Linked DNA regions of Homo sapiens: regions 2 and 3 are each linked to region 1. The links are contacts of gene promoters, found by promoter capture Hi-C in human tissues and cell types (Jung and others, 2019). All regions are on one chromosome and are shown on one strand. Each heading gives the region's core, a stretch centred on a gene start or on the middle of the fragment in contact. The rest is flanking DNA. Distances are from core to core; before and after follow the strand shown. Region 1 holds the start of MMP17 (matrix metallopeptidase 17). Region 2 overlaps ADGRD1 (adhesion G protein-coupled receptor D1). Region 3 overlaps LINC01257 (long intergenic non-protein coding RNA 1257).

Region 1 (2,882 bases), core at 129-2,628:
CTAAAAATACAAAAATTAGCTGGGCACGGTTGTGCACGCTTGAAATCCCATCTACTCAGGAGGCTGAGACAGGAGAATCATTTGAATTTAGGAAGCAGAAATTACAGTGAGCCAAGATCGTGCCACTGCACTCCAGCCTGGGCAACAGAGCAAAAAAAAAAAAAAGAAAGAAAGAAAAAACAATCCGGGATGTCCTGTGAAAGTCCCCACCTCCTACAGGTGATCCCATCAGTCCGAACCAAGGTCATCTGAAGCAGGTGTGGAATCACCCTGTTCAGACCGGGCCAGGGAGGCTCTGAGGGCAGCAGGGACAGGATGGGCCAGAGTACCCAGGGAAGCGGGGGGGGGGGGGGGGGGGTGGTTGGGGGGAGTCGGCCCTCACAGGAGGGGAGGGGCACCACTTCCCTGAGACCAGTTCTGGTAAAAGGGGCCGAGCCTCAGTTTCCCTGTCCGTAGAATGAGACCTCAGTCCTGACAGTACCAGCTGCGATTTGGGGTGGTGGAGCAGGAGGGCCTGGGAAGGAGGGGAAGCCATGCTGTCCAGCACGAGGAGAAGCTGAATAAAGGCAAGGGTTACCCTTGAACCTCACCCCCTGCCCTCTCCCAAGATCTCCCACTCGGTGGGCAGCCTGTACGCAACTTGCACGAGTTCAATCCACACAAGCGCCTGCTCGGGCTCTGACCCTGGCTCTGCCGCTTGCCCGCTCCAGGACCTCCCATAAGTTACTTCATTTCTTTGGGCCTCAGTTTCTTTGTCTGCGAAATGGAAATCATAGTTTTCATCTCATAAATGTTGTAAGTAAATGAAATTATTTATGTAACTCCTGGGCATGTGCCAGGCACACGCTGCGCTCCAACAAACATTACAAGTTAACATTCTCGCTCCCAGGCCCGCAGGGACCGCAGAGCCTCCGCCGAGGACCCCAGCCCCCCCAACACCCGCCCTCGCCCTCCAGTCCCCCGCGCCCCCCAAGCCCCACCCTCCCTCTCCCGCGGTCCGCGGGCTCCACCAAGCGCCCACCTGCTGCGCTGCGGCGGCGGCTCCGGGGCCTGAACCCGGGTCTGAACCCGGGCCTCGGCGCCGTGGGGGGTGGACCCGGGAGCGCGGCCGGAGAGGGGAGTCAGGGTCAGCTCCCCGCAGGCGCCCCGACCCCCGCCTCCGCGCCCATCCCGCGCGTCCCCGCCGCCCCAAGAGCGTCCTAAGACACCCGGGGAAACGCCTTCCCTGTGATGCCGCGGACCCAGTCCCGTCGCGGACACGGCGGGGCGGGCGGGGGTGGCAGCGTCCGAGGCGGCGCGGGCCCTTTAAGGCGGCCGGCCTCGTTAGCATACATTTGCATGGCCCCGCCCCGCCGCTTGAGGCTGCCGCGCGGGGCTCAGTCCGGCGGGGGCGCCGCGGAGAGCGGAGGGCGCCGGGCTGCGGAACGCGAAGCGGAGGGCGCGGGACCCTGCACGCCGCCCGCGGGCCCATGTGAGCGCCATGCGGCGCCGCGCAGCCCGGGGACCCGGCCCGCCGCCCCCAGGGCCCGGACTCTCGCGGCTGCCGCTGCCGCTGCTGCTGCTGCTGGCGCTGGGGACCCGCGGGGGCTGCGCCGCGCCCGCACCCGCGCCGCGCGCCGAGGACCTCAGCCTGGGAGTGGTGAGCGCGCGGGCGGGACGGGCGCGGAGCTCCTGGGCCGGAGCCGGGGGTCTCCGCGGGCCGGGTGGCGGGGACCGGGAAGACCCCAGCAGTGCACGTCGGCGTCGCGCGGGAGCCCTGGCGCCCTGGACCCATTTCCTGGGTGGGGAGACTGAGGCAGGGACGCGGGCTGAGCGACCGGGCGAGCGCACGCGAGTCCTGGGGAGGCGCCGGCTGCCGTCCCGGCTCCGTGCGCTGGGAGCGCGCCGCAGCCGCAGGAGCCCGTGGAGTTGTGAGGGGGTCGCCCACCCGGAGCCCGGGTCGCCGGCTTGCAGCAGCCCCGGAGCAGCCGGGCTGGGCGAGAGCAGGCATCGCGGCCGCCCCGAGCTCTGCGCGCTGCGTGCGTTCCGGGTGGGAGTGGCGGGGGCAGGAGCACGCACCCACAAAGCGAGGAAGGGCAGGGGCTACGGAGTGGGGGCACCCCGAAAGCCTTGAGCCCCCGAGTTTGCTCGGTTGAGGGTGTTGGGGGCACAGGGATGCTGGCCCCCAGCTCCCCACTGGACAAGGACCTGGCCCTCAGCCTCCTTCCCCTCCACCCCAGGTCGGCCAGGCTGGCCCTGCCTTGCCCTGGTACAGTGCTGAGCCGGGGGCGCGGGGAGAGCCTTCCTCACTCCACACCCAGTAGCTGTCCCCAGCTCAGCTTAGAAACCCTGCCTGGGGGCAGCGACGTGGCCTCTTCCTACAGCCCCCTCCCCTGTTCCGCAGCCGGGACTCGCGTCTCCTGTGGACCCGGAAGATTTAGAGCACACGTCGTGGGGTCAGCGCCCCCCCGCTGGGGCGGCCGGGTGAACTCCCGCTGGGTTCGTTGGTTCCTTCTGAGGCTCCTGCCCCACCGCTGCCTTCAATGGACTCCTACCCAGGGAGTCGGGCCAGGAGCCGAGGCCTCCCCGCCCCACACAAGTACTCGGCCTGGCCCTCGTCCGCGGACAGTCTCCCAGTGGGGTCCTGGCAGGGCCCCTCGCCCAGCGCAGTGGACATTCAGGAGCTCCAAAACCTTGGGGTCCAAGCAAGTCAGCGCAGGTGTATTTCAGGCAGTCGAGGCATATGGAGGGGCCACTTGGGTGGCACCCGCAGCCCCTGTGGTTGGCAGGACTTGGCCAGGGGGTCTGGATGGGAAGCCGATTTGGCCACCGTTTGCCCCAGGCCCCGAAGCCATCTGGGAGGGTGCTGGCCACTGTCCCTGCTGCCCGCGTCCAGGTGCCTG
Region 2 (2,882 bases), core at 124-2,623, 700 kb before region 1:
TCCCACCAGAGATCACCGTGATCTTGGCCTTCATAGTAGCCACGAGACCTTTGCTTTACAGTTCTACTGCCTCCATGTGCATTCCAGTTTTTCTTCTGCAGTGAGGCCTGTGAGTTGTTTCTTTGACATCTGCCTTTAGTGGGGAGATGCTTAGCTGCTGGAATATCCATGGTACTCACACTGTACATGCCTCAGTCCCAGGGCATTTTCCGATTTGTAGTCGAGTGTGGGTGTACCATACAGCAAGGCATGGATGAGGATGAGTGAAATGGAGTGAGGGGGGCCAGGCCTGATTCTGTATTATATTTTCATGAAATGTCAGATTTGTGCCACTCGCAGCCAAAGTCCCCCACCGCACCGATGCAGGATTGGAGGCCATGGTGAGCCGCTCCTCCTCTTAGGAAGCCACAGCAAATGTATCATCCTGATAAGATGGAAAAAATGTGCCTGGAAAATGAAACCAGACTGACCCAGGCTAAAAGAAAAAAAAAGACCCAGCAAAATCTTTGGAGAAAAAGGAAAGATGATGAATTCTGACAAGTAATAATGTGATCAGCTTAACTGTTATGAAACACTTAGAGTGCATCTTAACGCAAAGCGGTCAAGATAAAGTAAAGGACTTGAAATCTCAAATTAATCACTCGTAGTGTTTCATGTTGGCAAAACATTTTGCTGCAAGTTGATCATCCTTTCGGTGGCCTTGTCAGAAAAGTCTGGGAACAGTCATGTGTGCATCTTTCAGCTTTACAGCTGAGAGGTCCGGGGCAGAACCACGCTTTATAGCCTCCAGAGGCAAAGCAGGAGTGATGATGAGACCTCTGAGCTCATGTGGGTGTTGGTTGTGATGGGACCCTGAGCTCAGATGGGGTGTTGGTTGGGTTGGTTGTGATGGGACCCTGAGCTCAGGTGAGGTGTTGGTTGGGTTGGTTGTGATGGGACCCTGAGCTCAGGTGGGGTGTTGGTTGGGTTGGTTGTGATGGGACCCTGAGCTCAGGTGGGGTGTTGGTTGGGTTGGTTGTTATGGGACTCTGAGCTCAGGTGAGGTGTTGATTGTGTTGGTTGTGATGGGACTCTGAGCTCAGGTGGGGTGTTGGTTGTGTTGGTTGTGGTGGGATTCTGAGCTCAGGTGGGGTGTTGGTTGTGTTGGTTGTGATGGGACCCTGAGCTCAGGTGAGGTGTTGGTTGTGTTGGTTGTGATGGGATTCTGAGCTCAGGTGGGGTGTTGGTTGGGTTGGTTGTGATGGGACCCTGAGCTCAGGTGGGGTGTTGGTTGGGTTGGTTGTGATGGGACCCTGAGCTCAGGTGGGGTGTTGGTTGGGTTGGTTGTGATGGGACCCTGAGCTCAGGTGGGGTGTTGGTTGGGTTGGTTGTGATGGGACTCTGAGCTCAGGTGGGGTGTTGGTTGGGTTGGTTGTGATGGGACTCTGAGCTCAGGTGGGGTGTTGGTTGTGTTGGTTGTGATGGGATTCTGAGCTCAGGTGGGGTGTTTGACTGTGTTGGTTGTGATGGGATTCTGAGCTCAGGTGGGGTGTTGATTGTGTTGGTTGTGATGGGATTCTGAGCTCAGGTGGGGTGTTGGTTGGGTTGGTTGTGATGGGACCCTGAGCTCAGGTGGGGTGTTGGTTGGGTTGGTTGTGATGGGACCCTGAGCTCAGGTGGGGTGTTGGTTGATGGGAACTCTGCACTCACTCAAGTTGCTCGAGATCCTCTCCAGCATCTCCAGGCATCCCTCTCATGGGTCCCAGGCTTCACGGTTTCTCCATCCCCTGAATCACTGGAACACTGCATGGCTGAGTTTCTATTCCACCTGACCCCAAGGACACTGCTCCGTCATTCACAGGAAATGGGTTTCATATTATTTCCTTTTAATTTATAATTGTTTAAAACTAAAATTTAAAGAATCTGATTTATGAAATGGCAACACAAAATTTACAGGAAAAGCTTAAGAATCTATGCATAAATGTGTCTGCCTATGTATGTTTTTGCATTCCCTGGTTTCCACCCTCCCTCCAAACAGGCAACCCGTGATGCTGGTTTCATGGGTATCCTGGGGTTTTGTGCAGATAGGGGGACTGTAACTACATACCCACCCCATGGCGGCCTTCAGTGTATGTGGGGTGTGGCTTCTTCGCCAAGGAAGAGCTGCCTGAGTCTGTCTCAGACCCACAAAGTGTTCCATAGAGTGGGTGTGGGCAGCAGCCCTGCCCTGCTGTCTGGGTGTGGACGGCAGCCCCACCCTGCTGTCTGGGTGTGAGTGACAGGCCGGCCCTGCTGTCTGGGTGTGAGTGACAGCCCCGCCCTGCTGTCTGGGTGTGAGTGACAGGCCGGCCCTCCTGTCTGGGTGTGAGTGGCAGCCCCGCCCTGCTGTCTGGTGTGAGTGACAGGCCCGCCCTGCTGTCTGGTGTGAGTGACAGGCCGGCCCTGCTGTCTGGGTGTGAGTGACAGCCCCGCCCTGCTGTCTGGGTGTGAGTGACAGGCCGGCCCTGCTGTCTGGGTGTGAGTGACAGGCCCGCCCTGCTGTCTGAGTGTGAGTGACAGGCCCGCCCTGCTGTCTGGTGTGAGTGACAGCCCCGCCCTGCTGTCTGGGTGTGAGTGACAGGCCCGCCCTGCTGTCTGGGTGTGAGTGACAGGCCGGCCCTCCTGTCTGGGTGTGAGTGGCAGCCCCGCCCTGCTGTCTGGGTGTGAGTGACAGGCCTGCCCTCCTGTCTGGGTGTGAGTGACAGGCTGGCCCTCCTGTCTGGGTGTGAGTGACAGGCCCGCCCTGCTGTCTGGGTGTGAGTGACAGGCCCGCCCTGCTGTCTGGGTGTGACAGGCCCGCCCTGCTGTCTGGGTGTGAGTGACAGCCCCGCCCTGCTGTCTGGGTGTGAGTGACAGCCCCGCCC
Region 3 (2,882 bases), core at 249-2,748, 620 kb before region 1:
TGACTGGGATGGTGACACCCAGATGATCCTGGAAACCATATGTTGATGGTAGCTGAGCAGCCACCAGCCTGGGTCCTTGAGTGATTGCATGGAGCAGAGCCTTCCTCCCAACTGCCATGACCACTCCACATTCCTGTGAGGAGAGAAATGAGTGTTTTCCTCATGAGGTCGTTGAGTTTTAGGTGTTTGTGTGCTGACACAGCTAAGCCTGGCCCAACACACAGGATGAGGGCAGACTTTCCCCAAAGAAGAGAAAAATGGTGTTGTGAAGAGCAGAGGCAGGAGGGCAGACGTGGGAGGGTGACTGTCTCTCCCTGGGGAGGGGTGTGTGGGATGGGGCCGTGGGCCTGTGAGCAGCTGGGTGGGGGAGCTGGCAGCTGCCTTCTCACTCCCACTGGAAAGGCAGTCCCAGGGTTCTCTGAGCTGGAGACCCTCGGTCCAGCAGAAAAAGGCAGCCCAGTCCTCTTGCAGAGGAGAGAACACAGCCATGCCTAGGGGCTGCCTTTCTCCCCCAGGCTCGTGTGGCTGAACCGTGGCTACAGCCCCTTCAGTCCTGTGTCCTCGCCTCTGCCAGCAACCCCTGAGCTGCTGGGATGGCGTGGGATGTGGACCAGGAGCCCCAGTTCTCACCACTCGAGCCCGTGGGCCAGAGCCTGCCTGGCTCTATTCCTAGGTCTGCGGGAGAACTGGAGGGTATGGGAAGCTGAGTGGGGGAAGCTGTCCCCTAATCAATGGGCTGAGCAGTGGCAACGCTGTAGACATGGCACCATGCTGACCTCTTTTTGCTTTGGGTTCCTGAGCGGGGCCTTCTACCTGGACTCACACTCAGAGCAGGCTCTCCTTGGGCCCAGTGCCCTGCGTGTCCATTGGTTAGGGGATGGTGGGGGGTGAGGCCGGGCTGAATGAGGACAGATTGCGCTGTGACAGGCATCCCAACAGCAGCCTCCTGTGTCGGCTGCGGAGGGCTTGCATTTCAGAATTCATAAGCTCAGTCATGCCAAATGCAATTACTTTTATGTAACTGGAGTTAGTCTCTCTTTTACCACAATATTCTGACTGATGCAGAAAACATAATTTAGTCAATTCTAGGAAAACTCACTCAAGTTCAAAGTAATGTGGTAGAAGGTGTGGGTGTGGGGGCTTTGCAGAAACAAGAGGGAATTAACCATAACTTTAAGAAAATACATTCATTCTGCCTTGCAGGGGGTGCAGAAAGGGCACTGGGGTACTTGGGCTGTGGGGACCACGTCAGCTTCTAGCCCCGCTCTAGGATGTGGAAGTCTCTGGAGAAGGGTGGGAAAATACCCCAGGTCCTCCCTGGCCCCATCGCCCACCAGGGCCTCTCGCTGTCTCAACCCAGCCTGAGGCCAGCTGACCAGGGGTGTGGGAAGCCCAGTTCTATGCCTCTGCTCCCCCAGACCCCACAGATTCACAGCAGAGCAGGAAGGGCAGGGCATGGATGGGAGGGCATCAGGGCCACAGGCCCAGGACAGGCATGCCGACTGCTCTTGGGGGCATTTGCAGGTACACTAAGAAGCTGCAAGAGGGACACACACACACACACACACACACACACACACATACATACACACACTCACACATAGTCACACACACACACACCCCTGCCCTCCCGTCTCCAGACCTTGTGGTCACAACAACCCTCCTCCTCAGCTTCCTGGCACTGCTGGACCTGTCTTGAAGGCTCTTTTGGCCGGAAATGGATGGGCAGGGATCTGAGAGCACCTGCTATCGGGTGAGTCCTGCTTTACTCATGTCAGAGATTTAGACTAAAACAAACACAAAATGCAACAAAGACCTAAGTGTAAGAGCTAAAAGTATAAAACTCTTATAAAAAAAGTAAGTGTAAATTTTCATGGTCTTGGATTAGGTAGCACTCTCTTAGATGTGCTATCAGAAGCACATACAACCACAGGAAAAAAAATACATAAATTGAATTTCATCAAAATTTAAAACTTTTGTGCATTAAAGTTCATGATCAAAAAAGCGAGAAGAAAACCCAGAGAATGAGTGAAATATTTGCAAATCATACATCTGGGACAAGTATCCAGAATATATAAAAATTCTTAGAACTCAACAATATAAAGAAAAATAACCAAATTAAACAGTAGGCAAAGGATTCGAAGAGACCTTTGTCCAAAGAAGATACACAAATGACCAATGAGTACGTGAAAAGATACTCAGCAGCTACTCATTATGGAAGTACCACTTTCCACTCATGCTGAGGGCTATAATAAAAAACAAAACAGAAATGACAAGTGCAGTGAAGATGTGGAGAAACTGGATTTCTCATAGATTGCTGGTGGGAAAGTAACATGGTGCAACCAATGTAGAAACAGTTTGGCAGTTCCTTAAAAAATTAAACAGAGCTACCATCTGACCCGGCTTCTGCTCCTAGGTATTTATACACAAGGGAATTGCAGACATATGTTCACACCAAAACTAGTATGAGAATGTTCATAGCAGCATTATTCACAGTACCCAAAAAGTGGGAACAACCCCAATGCCCATTGAAAGACGAATGAATAAACAAAGCATGGTGTGTTCACACCATGGAATGTGCCTGTGTCCTCAGCCATGGAGAGAATGAAGCACTGACACAGGCCACCATGCGGCTGCACCTCAAAAACATAATGCCAGAAGAAAGAAGGCACACACCATGGCCATGTGTTTTATGATCCTACTCATAGAAAACGTCCAGAGCAGCCAGCACTACAGAGACAGAAAGCAGATTCATGGTTGCCAGGAGCTGGAGGTGAGGGATAGAAAATAGGGAGTGACCTGGAATGTGCATATAATTTTGAGGGTGGGGTCAGGTACTTGTCTGTTCTCACATTGCCATAAGGAAATCCCCGAGACCAGGT

Evidence for each region. Contacts are between HindIII fragments. The study calls those that stand out against the background at their distance.
Region 2: a fragment that was not itself captured here is called in contact with the fragment with the promoter of MMP17 in region 1 in 1 of the 25 tissues and cell types used here (lymphoblastoid cells).
Region 3: a contact is called between a fragment that was not itself captured here and the fragment with the promoter of MMP17 in region 1, in 1 of the 25 tissues and cell types used here (dorsolateral prefrontal cortex).

What each region holds. Positions count from the first base shown.
Region 1 is chr12:131,827,015-131,829,896 of GRCh38, forward strand. MMP17 (matrix metallopeptidase 17) reads left to right here and starts at 1,379. Exons shown (of 10, transcript NM_016155.7): 1 at 1,379-1,639. The coding sequence starts at 1,481. RefSeq lists a silencer at 1,244-1,373. The HindIII fragment of the contact is 32,715 bases long and covers 1-2,882 here.
Region 2 is chr12:131,126,639-131,129,520 of GRCh38, forward strand. The region is part of intron 20 of ADGRD1 (adhesion G protein-coupled receptor D1); the gene reads left to right. Among named protein-coding and RNA genes, the nearest start is that of LINC01257, 37 kb to the right of the region's middle. The HindIII fragment of the contact is 4,092 bases long and covers 1-2,882 here.
Region 3 is chr12:131,210,534-131,213,415 of GRCh38, forward strand. LINC01257 (long intergenic non-protein coding RNA 1257) reads left to right here. Exons shown (of 5, transcript NR_026670.2): 5 at 1,672-2,398. Among named protein-coding and RNA genes, the nearest start is that of LINC01257, 47 kb to the left of the region's middle. The HindIII fragment of the contact is 6,972 bases long and covers 1-2,882 here.